2 separate regions of the Homo sapiens genome follow, and region 2 is linked to region 1. The links are contacts of gene promoters, found by promoter capture Hi-C in blood cells and fetal thymus (Javierre and others, 2016). All regions are on one chromosome and are shown on one strand. Each heading gives the region's core, a stretch centred on a gene start or on the middle of the fragment in contact. The rest is flanking DNA. Distances are from core to core; before and after follow the strand shown.

What was found. The method cuts DNA at HindIII sites, captures the fragments that hold promoters and counts their contacts. A CHiCAGO score of 5 or more calls a contact.
Region 2: a contact is called between the fragment with the promoter of TSHR here and a fragment that was not itself captured in region 1, in 6 of 17 cell types (non-activated CD4 T cells, total CD8 T cells, activated CD4 T cells and 3 more). The highest score is 13.6, in non-activated CD4 T cells.

What each region holds. Positions count from the first base shown.
Region 1 is chr14:85,933,361-85,939,718 of GRCh38, reverse strand. LINC02328 (long intergenic non-protein coding RNA 2328) reads right to left here and starts at 5,041. Exons shown (of 4, transcript NR_110155.1): 1 at 4,858-5,041. RefSeq lists enhancers at 4,927-5,136, 5,507-5,556. The HindIII fragment of the contact is 3,745 bases long and covers 1,332-5,076 here.
Region 2 is chr14:80,953,026-80,959,383 of GRCh38, reverse strand. It overlaps TSHR (thyroid stimulating hormone receptor), which reads right to left and starts at 3,763. Exons shown (of 10, transcript NM_000369.5): 1 at 3,534-3,763. The coding sequence starts at 3,703. It also overlaps a transcript of CEP128 not described here. The HindIII fragment of the contact is 2,816 bases long and covers 2,145-4,960 here.

The sequences.
Region 1 (6,358 bases), core at 1,955-4,454:
GGGATTTATAATTTTTTTTAAAAAGAGGCATTTATTATAGCCTCCCCCAAACTGAAACAATGAAGTATTCACATACAAATATAACCATACATATATATTTAGGATCTATAGACCAAAAAACACAAAACAATGATGAAAAAATCAAAGAGTTGTGTAAATATATGGAGAGATGCCTCGTATTTACAAGTTTAAAGATTCAATATTCCCTTTTTTTTTTTTTCTCTTGAGACAGAGGTTCACTCTGTCACCTAGGCTGGTATGCAATGGCGTGACCTCGGTTCACTGCAACCTCCACTTCCCAGGTTCAAGCGATTCTCCTGCCTCAGCCTCCTGAGTAGCTGGGATTACACGCAGCCACCACCATGCCCAGATAATTTGTATTTTTTTAGTAGAGACAGGGTTTCACCATGTTGGTCAGGCTGGACTCGAACTCCTGACCCCGTGATCTGCCCGCCTCAGCCTCCCGAAGTGTTGAGATTACAGGTGTGAGCTACCACGCCTAGCCAAGATTCAATATTCTTAAGATGACAATTCTTCCAAACTCTCTCAAGTGATTCAATTGAATCTCAAAGAAAATCTTAGTACACTATTTTGGAGATATTGATAAGCTGATTCTAAAGTTTTATTGGGGTTCAGAAAATGACAACCCAAAATATGGCAGTTTGGCATGCTGAGTGCTTTGAAAAAAAAAATGTTGAAAGGCCTCAGAAATAAGCCTCAGGACCATGGCCTCTCTTTAATCTCTGCCCCCCCTTACCCCTTCCTTTATTGAAGCCTCAGGAAAACCCTTCTCTCAAGTTCCCTTATCTGATTAAAAAAGTTCCTCCAGAAGTCATGAAATTGTCTTAAAACACACTTCCTAGAAATTTCAACAGAAAACAGGGAAAGATTAACCACTGGAGAAGAGACTAGATCTGAAGTCATCACCACGCTCAGAGAGATTTTTCATCTAGACTTCTGAGGGAAGCTCCAAGAGATTACCAGGGACACTATCTGCATAATAAGACAAATTTTGTTCATGGTGAACATCTCATCACCTTCTCATAACTTGCCACCACCTCGCCCAGATCTCAAAAGAACTTTGTCTTTTTTTAGGCTAATTCATTTCTCTAAACATCATTGCCTATACTCTAAATTGCCTGCACTCCCATCTCCCTCTCCCCTATGAAGAGTGTTATTTAAGCTGCAGCCATCTGGCCCTTCTTTGAGACTCATATTTTCCATGGCTCCCATGCTTCTGCACATTAATAGAGTTATATGACTTTCTTTTGTTAATCTATCTATTGTCAGTTTTTTTCAGCAGCAAATCCTCAGAGAGCAGAAGAGAAGCTTTCCTTTTGCCTCTATAGGAAAAATTAAAAGGCAGAAGATCCAGAATAACCAACACAATCCTGCAGGAACAGAGGAATAATGTTGAGGATTCACACTATCTTATTTTAAGACTTACTGTAAAGCTACAATGATTAAGACCACATAGCATTGACCTCACCTCACCAAAAAAAAACCACATAGATCAGTGGAACAAAACAGAGAGCCTATAAATAGGCCCAAACATATATTCAAATGAATTTATAACTTCCCATTGGGTTCATCTTGCCCACTGCCTAGACAGGGCCAATTTACCAAGACAGGGGAATTACAATAGAGAAAAAGTAATTCACGCAGAGCCAGCTGTGCAGGAGACCAGAGCTTTATTACTACTCAAATCAGTCTCCCTGAGCATTCAGGGATCAGATGTTTTAAGGACAACTTGGTAGGCGGGGGGAAGCCAGTGAGCCAAGAGTGCTGATTGGTCAGGAAGGGGATAAAATCATAGGGAATTGAAGCTGTCCTCTTGGGCCAAGTCAGTTCCTGGCTGGAGCCACAAGATCAGATGAGCCAGTTAATTGATCTGGGTGGTGCCAGCTGATCCATCAAGGGGAGGGTCTGCAAATTTATCTCAATCACTGATCTTAAGAGCAGATTAGGGTTTTTTTGTTTTTTTTTTTTTTTTTTTTTCTGAGACCAAGTCTCACTCTGTCGCCCAGGCTGGAGTGCAGTGGCACGATCTTGGCTCACCACAAGCTCCACCTCCTGGGTTCACACCATTCTCCTGTCTCAGCCTCCCGAGTAGCTGGGACTACAGGTGCCTGCCGCCACACCCGGCTAATTTTTTTTTTTTTTTGTATTTTTAGTAGAGATGGGGTTTCACCATGTTAGCCAGGGTGGTCTCGATCTCCTGACCTCATGATCCACCCGCCTGGCCTCCCAAAGTGCTGGGATTACAGGCATGAGCCACCGCACCCAGCCCATAATTTCTAATCTTGTGGCTAATTTGTTAGTCCTACAAAGGCAGTCTAGTCCCCAGGCAAGAAGGAGGTTTGTCTGGGGAAAGGGCTGTTATTGTTTTTGTTTTAAACTATAAACTAAGTTCCTCCCAAAGTTAGTTCAGCCTACACCGAGGAATGAACAAGGACAGCTTGGAGGTTAGAAGAAAATGGAGTTGGTTAGGTCAAATATCTTTCACTGTCTCAGTTATAATTTTGCAATGGTAGTTTCCATTTTTCCCAAAGATTCAAAGTCAAGTCGATGAAGCAAATGTTGACATTTTAAACAAATAGTGCTGAAACAATTGGATACTCAAATTAAAACAAAAAGAACCTAGCACATATTCTACAGCTTTCACAAAAATTAAGTTGAAATTGATCAAGTACCTAACTTTAAAATGAAAAACTATAAAACATCTAAAAGAAAAAGAAAAGAGAAAATCTATGGAATCTTAGATTTGTCGATGAGTTTTTAAATACAGCACCAAAAGCACAATACATGAAAAAAAAGTAAGACTTTATTAGAATTATAAACATCTGCTCTTTGAGAAATATTAAGAGAGTTAAAGGACAAGCCATAGAATGAGAAAAAAATATTTGTGAAACACATATCTGGTAAAAAAAAAAAAAAGATAGAAAAAATAAAAATAATACATCCAAAATATACAGAGTGATGCTTAAAACTCAAGAATAAAATACAACTCAATTAAAAAGTAAGCAAAAGTTCTAAACAGATACCACCATATATATGGCAAATAAGTACATGTAAAGATGCTCAACATTGGTTGTCATTAGGTATATAAAAATTAAAATAATAATGAGATAACATTGTACATGTATTAAGAGGGCTAAAAACCAAAATATGCTAATACTAAATACTGGTTAGGATGAGGAGCAACAAGAACTCTCATTCATCACCGGAGAAAATGCAGAATGGTACAACCACTCTGATGGATAACTTAGCAGTTTCTAACAAAGCTAAACATATTTTTACCTTGTAATCCAGCAGCTGGGTTCTTAGATATTTACCTAGATGATTTGAGAAATTTTAACTACAGAAAACTTTCACATGAATGTTTATAGAATTTTATAAAATTATCACCAAAAACTGAAAGCTATCAAGATGTTCTTCAACACAGAAATGAATAAACTCTGGTATATCCATACAATGAAATACTATTCAGAGATAGGAAAGAATGAGCTATCAAGCTGTACAAGGACATAGATGATTCTTAAATGTGTATTGCTAAATGAAAGAAGCCAGCATGAAAGGACTGCTGCATACTGCATGATTATATTACATTCTGGAAAAAGCAAACTTATAGAGAGGGTAAAGATATCATTTGAAAGCAGCCTGGGCAAGATGGCAAGACCCTGGCTCTACAAAAAAAATTAAAAATTAGCTGGGCATGGTGGTGCACACCTGTAGTCCCAGCTACTTGGGAGGCTGAGGCAGGAGGATCCTTTGAGCCCAGGAAGTAAAGGTGGCAGTGAGCCATATATATGGTGCCACTGCACTCCAGACTGGGAAACGAAGCAAGACCCTGTCTCTAAAAATGAAAAAATAAAGAAAATAAAGATATCAGTGGTTTCTAGAGGTTCACAGACACAGATTTGAGTAGGTGAAGCACAAGAGATTGCCTAGAGTGGTGAAACTATTCTGTATGATACTGCAATGGTGGATAGATGATATTATGCATTTATCAAAACCCATAAAAGTCTAGAGCACAAAAACTTAACCGTAATGTATGAAAATTTTTAAAAAATTATTTAGGAGGTTAGGAGATCCCAGATACAAGGTAAACTGTGACTATACAACCATCCAATCTTCAACAAGGCCAACAAAAACAAGCAACAAGGAAAGGACACTCTATTCAATAAATGGTGCTGGGATAACTGGTTAGTATGCAGAAGATTGAAACTGGATCCCTACCTTTCACCAGATACAAAAATTAACTGAGGATGAATTAAAGACTCAAATGTACGCTCTCAAACTATAAAAATCCTAGGAAATATCCTTCTCAACACTGGCCTTGGCAAAGAAAATTTGGCTAAGTCCCCAAAAACAATTGCAGCAAAAACAAAAATTGACAAGTGGGACCTAATTAAAGAGCTGCTGCACAGCAAAAGAAACTACCAATAGAGTAAACAGAAAACCTACAGAATGTGAGAAAATATTTGCAAACTATGCATCCAACAAATGCCTAATATCCAGAATCTGTAAGGAACTTACAACAAGCAAAAAACAGAATACATTAAAAAATGGGCAAAGGACATGTACAGACACTTCTTAAAAGAAGACATACAAGCGGCCAACGAACATGAAAGAATGCTTGTCATCACTAATCATCAGGGAAATGCAAATCAAAACCACAATGCTATATCATCTTAAACCAGTTACAATGGCTATTACTCTACAGTCAAAAAACAACATATGCTGGCGAGTCTAGAGAAAAAGGAACATTTATACACTGTTGGTGAGAATGAAAATTAGTTCAGCCACTATAAAAAGCAGTTTGGAGACTTTTCAGAGAACTTAAAACAGAGGTACCATTCAACTCAGCAGTCCCACTGAGACGAGAAGTCTTCTTCTGATGGAAGGTTTTTCTCAATGGAAGCGTTCGTGTCTCACGGGCTTCAAGGAATGAAGCTGTGGACCACAGCAGCGAGTGTTACAACTTGATTAGAGAAACGGGCGGACCCAAAGAGTGTGCGGCTGCAAGATTTGTTAAAGTGAAAGCAAAAGTAAAGTGAAAGCGAAAGTAAAGCTTCTGCGTGGTGGAAGGGGACCCAGAAGGGTTGCTGTTTCTGGCTTGGGTGTCTTATGCTTATATCGCCTTATGACCCCTCCCCTTTTCCTTTTTCTGTCCTATACAATTAGCTTATTTTCAACCCACTTGTGGGTTGATGGGCCTGATTGGTTAAAAACATCAGGCTGTAGCTAGACCTTAAACTCCCTATATGATTGGTTGAAGTTTCAATCCCTTAGCTTGCAGCTGTGACTCATTTTGGCTTAGGGGAAAGTCCCCTTTGATTGGTTGAAGTTTAAATCCCTTAGCTTGCAGCTGTGACTTATTTGGGTTTAGGGGATAGTCCCCTTAGGGAAGTCCCTATTGACCCAGGAAGTCCAGCCAACTTAGCCACTTAGTCCCTCACCATTACTGGGTATATAACGAAAGGAATTTAGGTCATCATACTGGAAAAAACACATGCTATTGTATGTACATTGCCACACTACTCACAATAGCAAAGACATATGTGATGGTTAATACTGAGTGTCAATTTGACTGGATTGAAGGATACAAAGTATTGATCCTGGGTGTGTCTGTGAGGGTGTTCCCAAAGGAGATTAACATTTGAGTTAGTGGGCTGGGAAAGGCAGACCCACCCTTAATCTGGGTGGCACAATCTAATCAGCTGCCAGGTGGCTAGAATATAAGCAGGCAGAAAAATGGAAAAGAGAGACTGGCCTAGTCTCCCAGCCTACATCTTTCTCTTGTGCTGGATGCTTCCTGCCCTGGAACATCCGACTCCAAGTTCTTCAGTTTTGGAACTCAGACTGGCTCTTCTTACTCTTCAGCCTGCAGACAGCCTATTGTGGAACCTTGTGATTGTGTGAGTTAATACTTAATAAACTCCCCTTTATGTATATATGTGTGTTCCATTAGTTCTTTCCCTCTAGAGAACCCTGATACAGATGTTGGTACCAGAAGTGGTCTTCTAGAGGAACAGAATATTAAGGATGTAGTTCTTTCATTGGTTTTGGAATTTCTGGTGTTGGCTGCTTAATATTAGACGCCAAAAATGCTAAGAACTCTACTTCTAATAGCATGGAGAACACTGATAATCCTTGGCATGAACTGTTCGAGAAATATGCAAAATAAATGCATTTGACACTCCTGATTCATCGCTCCTGAGAGGCAAGGATTTTAGTGACTCTACATGTAATACCTTTGACCATATGTGGAGAACCAAGGAACATAATGAAGCTGGTTGGTTGCTCCTAAGTTCAGTGGAAAAAGTGATGAAAGAAAATAATGAACTCAGGGATT
Region 2 (6,358 bases), core at 2,514-5,013, 5.0 Mb after region 1:
ATGATCTATAATTATATGCCAACATTTAAATTTTTAATTTTATTCTCTTGCTTCATTTAAGTTTCCTTAAATCAGTAATTTTCAATGGAAGAGAGTGATTTTTTTCAAACTACCTACACATCAAAGATTCTAGAATGTTCCACTGGCAGTGGGGGAAGTAGGGATCCCAGCTCTCCCTCACCTTCCACTCAGGTAAAGCATCATACCCTTCTGGAGGGGAGGAGTGAGGAAAAGATACAGCATCACTTCTTCAGTGAGGGCCACAGTCCGTAACTCTCTCCCCTGCATCCATAAGACCACGGGGCTGGGATATGGGTAGTAGGGCAAGAGAGCTGTTTACCTTTCAGAACAATAATCTATGAGTAGAAGATAAAGTTTAGAAAGAGTTGTTCTCGGCACCATCATAATTTGTAAAATGTCTAAGAAGTGGTTATACAGCATCTTAATGAAGGTTGCAGAAGTAATGCAAATAACTCTACAGGAACAAAATACCTTACATTTTAAACCAGTGTAAGCTCTTCAAAAACTTTAAAAAGAGGTACACTCTGAATAATACAAAACTTGTGAGAGAACATGCCTCAGTAGTAGATCCTGTATAATTTAAGTAGATTCCAAAAAGAGGTCACCACCCAGAACGGCTTTTTAATGACAAAAACTTGGTTTATTTCAGCAAGGAATACCTTCCATAACTTAGATCTTTCTTGTCTAGAAAGATGTAAAAAAAGATCTAGATTTTCTTGTCAAGAAAGACTAACTTAGTCTTTCTTGTCCTCCTTGCCTCTCTTCCACTCTCTCTTTCTTCCTTCCTTCTTCTTTCCTTTCCCTGCTAACCTCCTGCTTTCTGAGTTCTTGCATCTGATGAATAGCCCCCGAGGTTATCAGTCGGTTTACTGAATGTGACTTGTTTTCAGACTTTTTTCTCCAAAGCCTATGACCATCAGGGGAACACTGGTGTGGTGAGACACACTTCTCATCTGAGAGTGGTGGCTTAAGGGTGCAGGCTCCATAGTTGATGATATGATATTCAAATCCTGACTTTACCACTTACAAGCTGTGCAACATTGAGCAAATTACTTCATTTTATTTTTGTGCCTCAAGGTCCTCATCTATAAAATGAGCATAATAACATCACCTACTTAATTGGATTTGGTGAGGATTCACTGGGTGAGTTCATGCAAAGCGCTGAGAACAGGACCCCCCGCCCCCGTAAGTAAACACAATATAATTGTTAGCTTTACATGTTTTACTTCTCTCATATGCTTTTCTTCAACAAAGAGTTCTACCGCCCCCAAAAGATTTAAAAATCATTTTTCTACTGTTGCAGATGGTAGTAGCCATTGTTCAAAGGAGACTACCATTTTGTTTTACCCACACTTTTTATCAGGTTTCTCTTTTCGATCTCAGAATAACTTTATTCTTCAGGACATACTACCTCCCTCTCCATTATTCTCAAGGGCAGATCCTCCTTGCCACTGTCTTTATGTCTTTTTCTTGTGATTCAGTGCCTTCCCTCAGACTATTCTCATCAGCATCATGTCATCACCTAGAAAGCACCTAGTTGAACATTCTCTTTTACCCAGAAGGAAATTTGGCTCCTTCCAAATCAGTCATCTTACACAATTTCATGGTTAGTAAAGAAGGGCTAAAGAGAATGCTGGTTTCCTGACTCCTGTTCCATTGCTCATTCTCCATTACCCTTTCTTTCTCAACTTTTGGTGGAATTTTAAACAGGATGTCTACGAGTTCCTTTTCACTGTCAGAGCCACATCTCTCTTCAATGACTTGAATTTCTGCCACTGTTAAAGAAGTCTCTGAAGAAGTGATGTCTTTGGATTTCTTTCTCCCCAACATAGAGTGGACATTCAGAGACCTGGCATATTCATTTGTTTATTTATTCACTTAAGTTTTTTTTTTTTTGTTTTTTCTGAGTGTCTAAGTAGTTCCAGGGTTTCAGGAATTCGGGGTTGAATGGCAGTTCCCTATGTTAGAGAAGCTTGTGTCCTGCTTGAGTGGGCATGCAAATAAATAACAAGTTACAAGAAAGTAGACAATGTCTAAGGGCTAGGGTTAGGTTCATGCAGAGAACGCTGTTGGGAAGGGGGGTATAGCTTACCCAGCCTGAAGGTCATGGGTCAGGAGAAGCTTCCTGCAGGGTTGATCCAGGATCTGGATCTGGGAGTAGGCATTAGCTGGGTGAAGAAATGGGTGAAATGTGCTTCAGGCAGAGGGGCCAGAAAGTGGGAAGAAAGGCAAGGGCAGCTGTAACAGCAGGGACCTTTGGGGAAGTGCCAGAAGTTCTCAGCAGGAGGGGGAAGTTAGAGAAATGAGGAGCAATGAGGTTGGAAAGACTTGACTAGGTCTTGAAAGATCTGGTAGGCTGCACAAAAGAATTTTATTCTAGAGGTGACAAGCAACCTATGTAGAGGTGTAATCAAGAGGCCATTACACCTTTTACACATCTTATTCTGTGGTGGCAGCATGGAGAATGACTACCACACTGTTTGGAGGTTATTGAACTAATTAATTCAGGTGTGCTAAGACACTAGGATATCTCTGAGCACAGAAATATATCTCTGTGCTCAAATATTCATCTACTGTTAAATAGTCTTCATGAGCTAAATTCTTGAGAAAATCTAGAGGTGCAACTTTCCCATTTCTTTTCATCTATCAACATTTTCTTTAATAACCTGCATTTTTTTTTATCTTAACTGGATTTAACCAGCCTAGGTTGTTTTACTGTCCTTTCTTTCTGTTCTCTTTTTAACTAATCAAGACAGACTTTATTCCCTTGGTTTTGTCTACAATTTCAATGATCACTGATTTAAATTGCTGTTAAGAAACAGGTTGTGTGTGTATAATCTTATTTAACATCAGGTTTCTAATCTGGTAACATTTAACATGCAGATAAATGTACTATACTTTTATGAAATTTCATTTCTTTATACCTCTATCACAAAGCAGGGTTCTGGACGTACTATTTCACTGGCAGTTCACATTTGAGTAAGTAACTTACAGATACTGTATAGACAGTTCATTTTAAAAAGGGCCCCTGCTTAAACCTTTGTCAACAATTTGATGAATCAGCAGAACTGCTAAGATAACCTCCCATCTAGAGAAACAAAAAGGAGAAATACATATTTTTGCAATTTTTTATTACCCAAGGTAAGATCAAAAAGGTCAGTTCCTGAGATGCCATTATCCTTATTAATTCAAATAAAACAGATTCAACCAGGGTTAGGCAAAGTGCTGAATAGCAGCTTGTTGGAAAGAACAGCTCTCACGGTCATTGTACACCAAAGTTTTGTAACATTTTCCTGTGTTGGGAATGAGGATGTCAACAATGATACCTTCCCAAGTGTGGGCGATTAAGTTTTTAGCACACACACACATCTACACACACAGACATTCACTCACACATACACACACTCACACACTACTTCGGGCTGTTATTGAGCTGCTTTTGTGCACTTCGGGCCACCTCTGCAGATGCCCTTGATCTCTGGGTCCTACCCTGATCTCTCCCGGGTACTCACAGAGTCTGCGTACTGGGCGGTAAGCTGGGGATGCGTTGAATATCCTTGCAGGTGACTCTGAAGTCCTCCTCCTGATGGCACTCGCAGGGTGGAGACGAACACCCCATTCCGCCCAGGTCCCTGGGCAGGTCGAGCAGCAGCACCAGCTGCAGCAAGTCCGCCGGCCTCATTTTCCACGGGACTCGGGGCTATTTCTCCATCCTCCGAAATCGCCTCATTCTCAGCTCTGCACCTCGGGTTACCCCAGGCCAAAGGAGACCCGGGAGCGGGAGGGGTGGGAAGAGGGAGGGCTCCAAGGGGCTGTGACCTCACCACTGTGGAGGAGGCTGGAGAAGGGGAAAAAGAGGCACTTAAGTGCTCCGCTTCCCTAGGCAACCTTGACCCAAACAAGTCTGCTTGCTTCACTTTCCTTGGCTGGACCCACGCAGTCCGCTCCGTCTGTTCCCTGACACCCAACACCAGTCCTGGCTGTCCCCTCTGTTTTCCAGCCCGCCCCCCCACCCCGGGCGCCCCTCCCATTAGTTCTCTCCAAAGCCTAGTTTAGATGCCCCCTCCTTTCCTCCTCTTTAAATCCAAGGAGCCACCTTCCCTAGCGTGTAGCCTTCTAGACACCCTGTCTGCCTGGGAGCCACTCGCACGCACTCCTTATCCAGAGAAAGTCCCCGCGGAGTGGACTGTCCGCGGGCGGACCAATGTCCTGCAGAACTTCAGCTCCTCCTGGCCAGAGACACCTCTGCTGAGGGTCAGAGGCGGGCACGCAGCCCTGGCTAGCCCGCGGTGCGGCCGAAGCCGTCGCCCTGCACCCCTGGAGGATTCTCGTTGCTATCCAACTGCAGGGGCCACTCCGGTGGTTGAGTCGACTGGCAGCGGCCGCCTCACGTTGCAGCCCGCGGCTCCGCGAGGCAATTCAGGAACTGAACTTTGGGGCCATCTGCTGGGAAGAATCGGGAATGGCAGAAATAATTCCAGGTTCCCTTAATAATGGGTCCAGTATGGAAATTCTGGTCGACCCAAGAATTTCATTGAGTCATATTCCCCCTGGAAGATGGGAAGAAAAATAATACTTAAGTGGCATACTCACCATTCTTCGCACAGTAGCCAAAAAGATCATTACAAACATAAATCAGATTGTGCCTATTTCCTTCTTAAAAGTCTTCAATCACTTATTCCTCTTGGGATAAAAGGAATGTCAATTCCTTCTATACTGCATAATTCCTTTTATATGAACTTGGCTAGGACAGGAAGGAAAAAGTTGTGGTTATGGGAATCAGAATAAAGGTTAGGAAAGATTGACTAGAAAAAGACAGGAGGGAACACACAGGGTTTCCATATCGTAATTAGGCTGGAGGTTAAGTGGATGTATACATTTATCAAAATTCATTAAACCGTACATTTAAAATATGTGTATTCCAAATTTTACAGAAGCTTTATTCATAACCACTAAACGAACCAAGTGTCTCGCGACTAGATAATGGATAAACAAACTCTGATACCTCCACATTGGAATACTATTCTGCAATAAAAATGAATGAACTGCTGATACAACATGCACAAATTTTCTTTTCTTTTTTTTTTTCTTTTGAAACGGAGTCTTGCTCCGTCGCCCAGGCTGGAGTGCAATGGCGCGATCTCGGCTCACTGCAACCTTTGCCTCCGAGGTTCAAGCAATTCTGCTGCCTCAGCCTCCCGAGTAGCTGGGACTACAGGCGCCCGCCACCACGCCCGGCTAATTTTTTCGTAATTTTAGTAGAGACGGGGTTTCACTGTGTTAGTCAGGCTGGTCTCGATCTCCTGACCTCGTGATCCGCCCGCCTCGGCCTCCCAAAGTGCTGGGATTACAGGCTTGAGCCACCGCACCCGGGCTTTTGTTGTTGTTTTTTTAAAAATTACCATGGTATTGTTATGGAACAAATCTTGAATGCATAATGTTAAGTGAAAAAAGCCAAACTCAAAATATTACGTATTTATATGTAATTATTCATATTAATGATTCATTTATATAGCTTTCTCAAAAAGGCAAAACCATAGGGACAGGAAAAAGATCAGCGGTTGCAAAGGCCTAGGGTAGGGCTGACTACAAATGAACACCAGAGAATTTTGTGGGTAATAAAACTGTTTTAAATCTTGTTCGTGGTGATGGTTCCATGGTAGTTTATTAATGTGGTGAATCATAGTGATCGATTTTCGAATGTTAAACCCACCTTGAATTGCAGGGATAAATCTCACTTGATCATGATGTATTTATCCTTTTTTTGTTTGTTTGTTTGAGACGGAGTCTCGCCCTGTCGCCCAGGCTGGAGTGCAATGGCACGATCTTGGCTCACTGCAACCTCCGCCTCCCGGGCTCAAGGGATTCTCCTGCCTCAGCCTCCAGAGTAGCTGGGATTACAGGCGCCCGCCACCACGCCCGGTTAATTTTTTGTGTCTTTAGTGGAGACGGGGTTTCACCATGTTGGCCAGGCTGGTCTGGAACTCCTGATCTCGTGATCCGCCCGCCCCAGCCTCCCAAAGTGCTGGGATTACAGGCATGCACCACCGTGCCCGGCCGTGTTTATCATCTTTTTAATATACTCCTTCATTGGATTTGCTAAAATTCTGTTTAAAAGTTTTACATAGACGTTCACAAGGGATAGTAGTCTGTTATTTTCTTTTCTGTAACTTCTTTGTCAAATTTTGGTATGAGGGCAATTAATTCTTCCATCACAGAATAAGTTGGGAAATATTCCTTCCTCTTTAAATTTCTATAGGAGTTTGTGTAGAACTGATATCATTCCTTTCTTACTTATTTGGTAGAATTCTCCAGTGAAGCTGTTGGAACCTTGCAT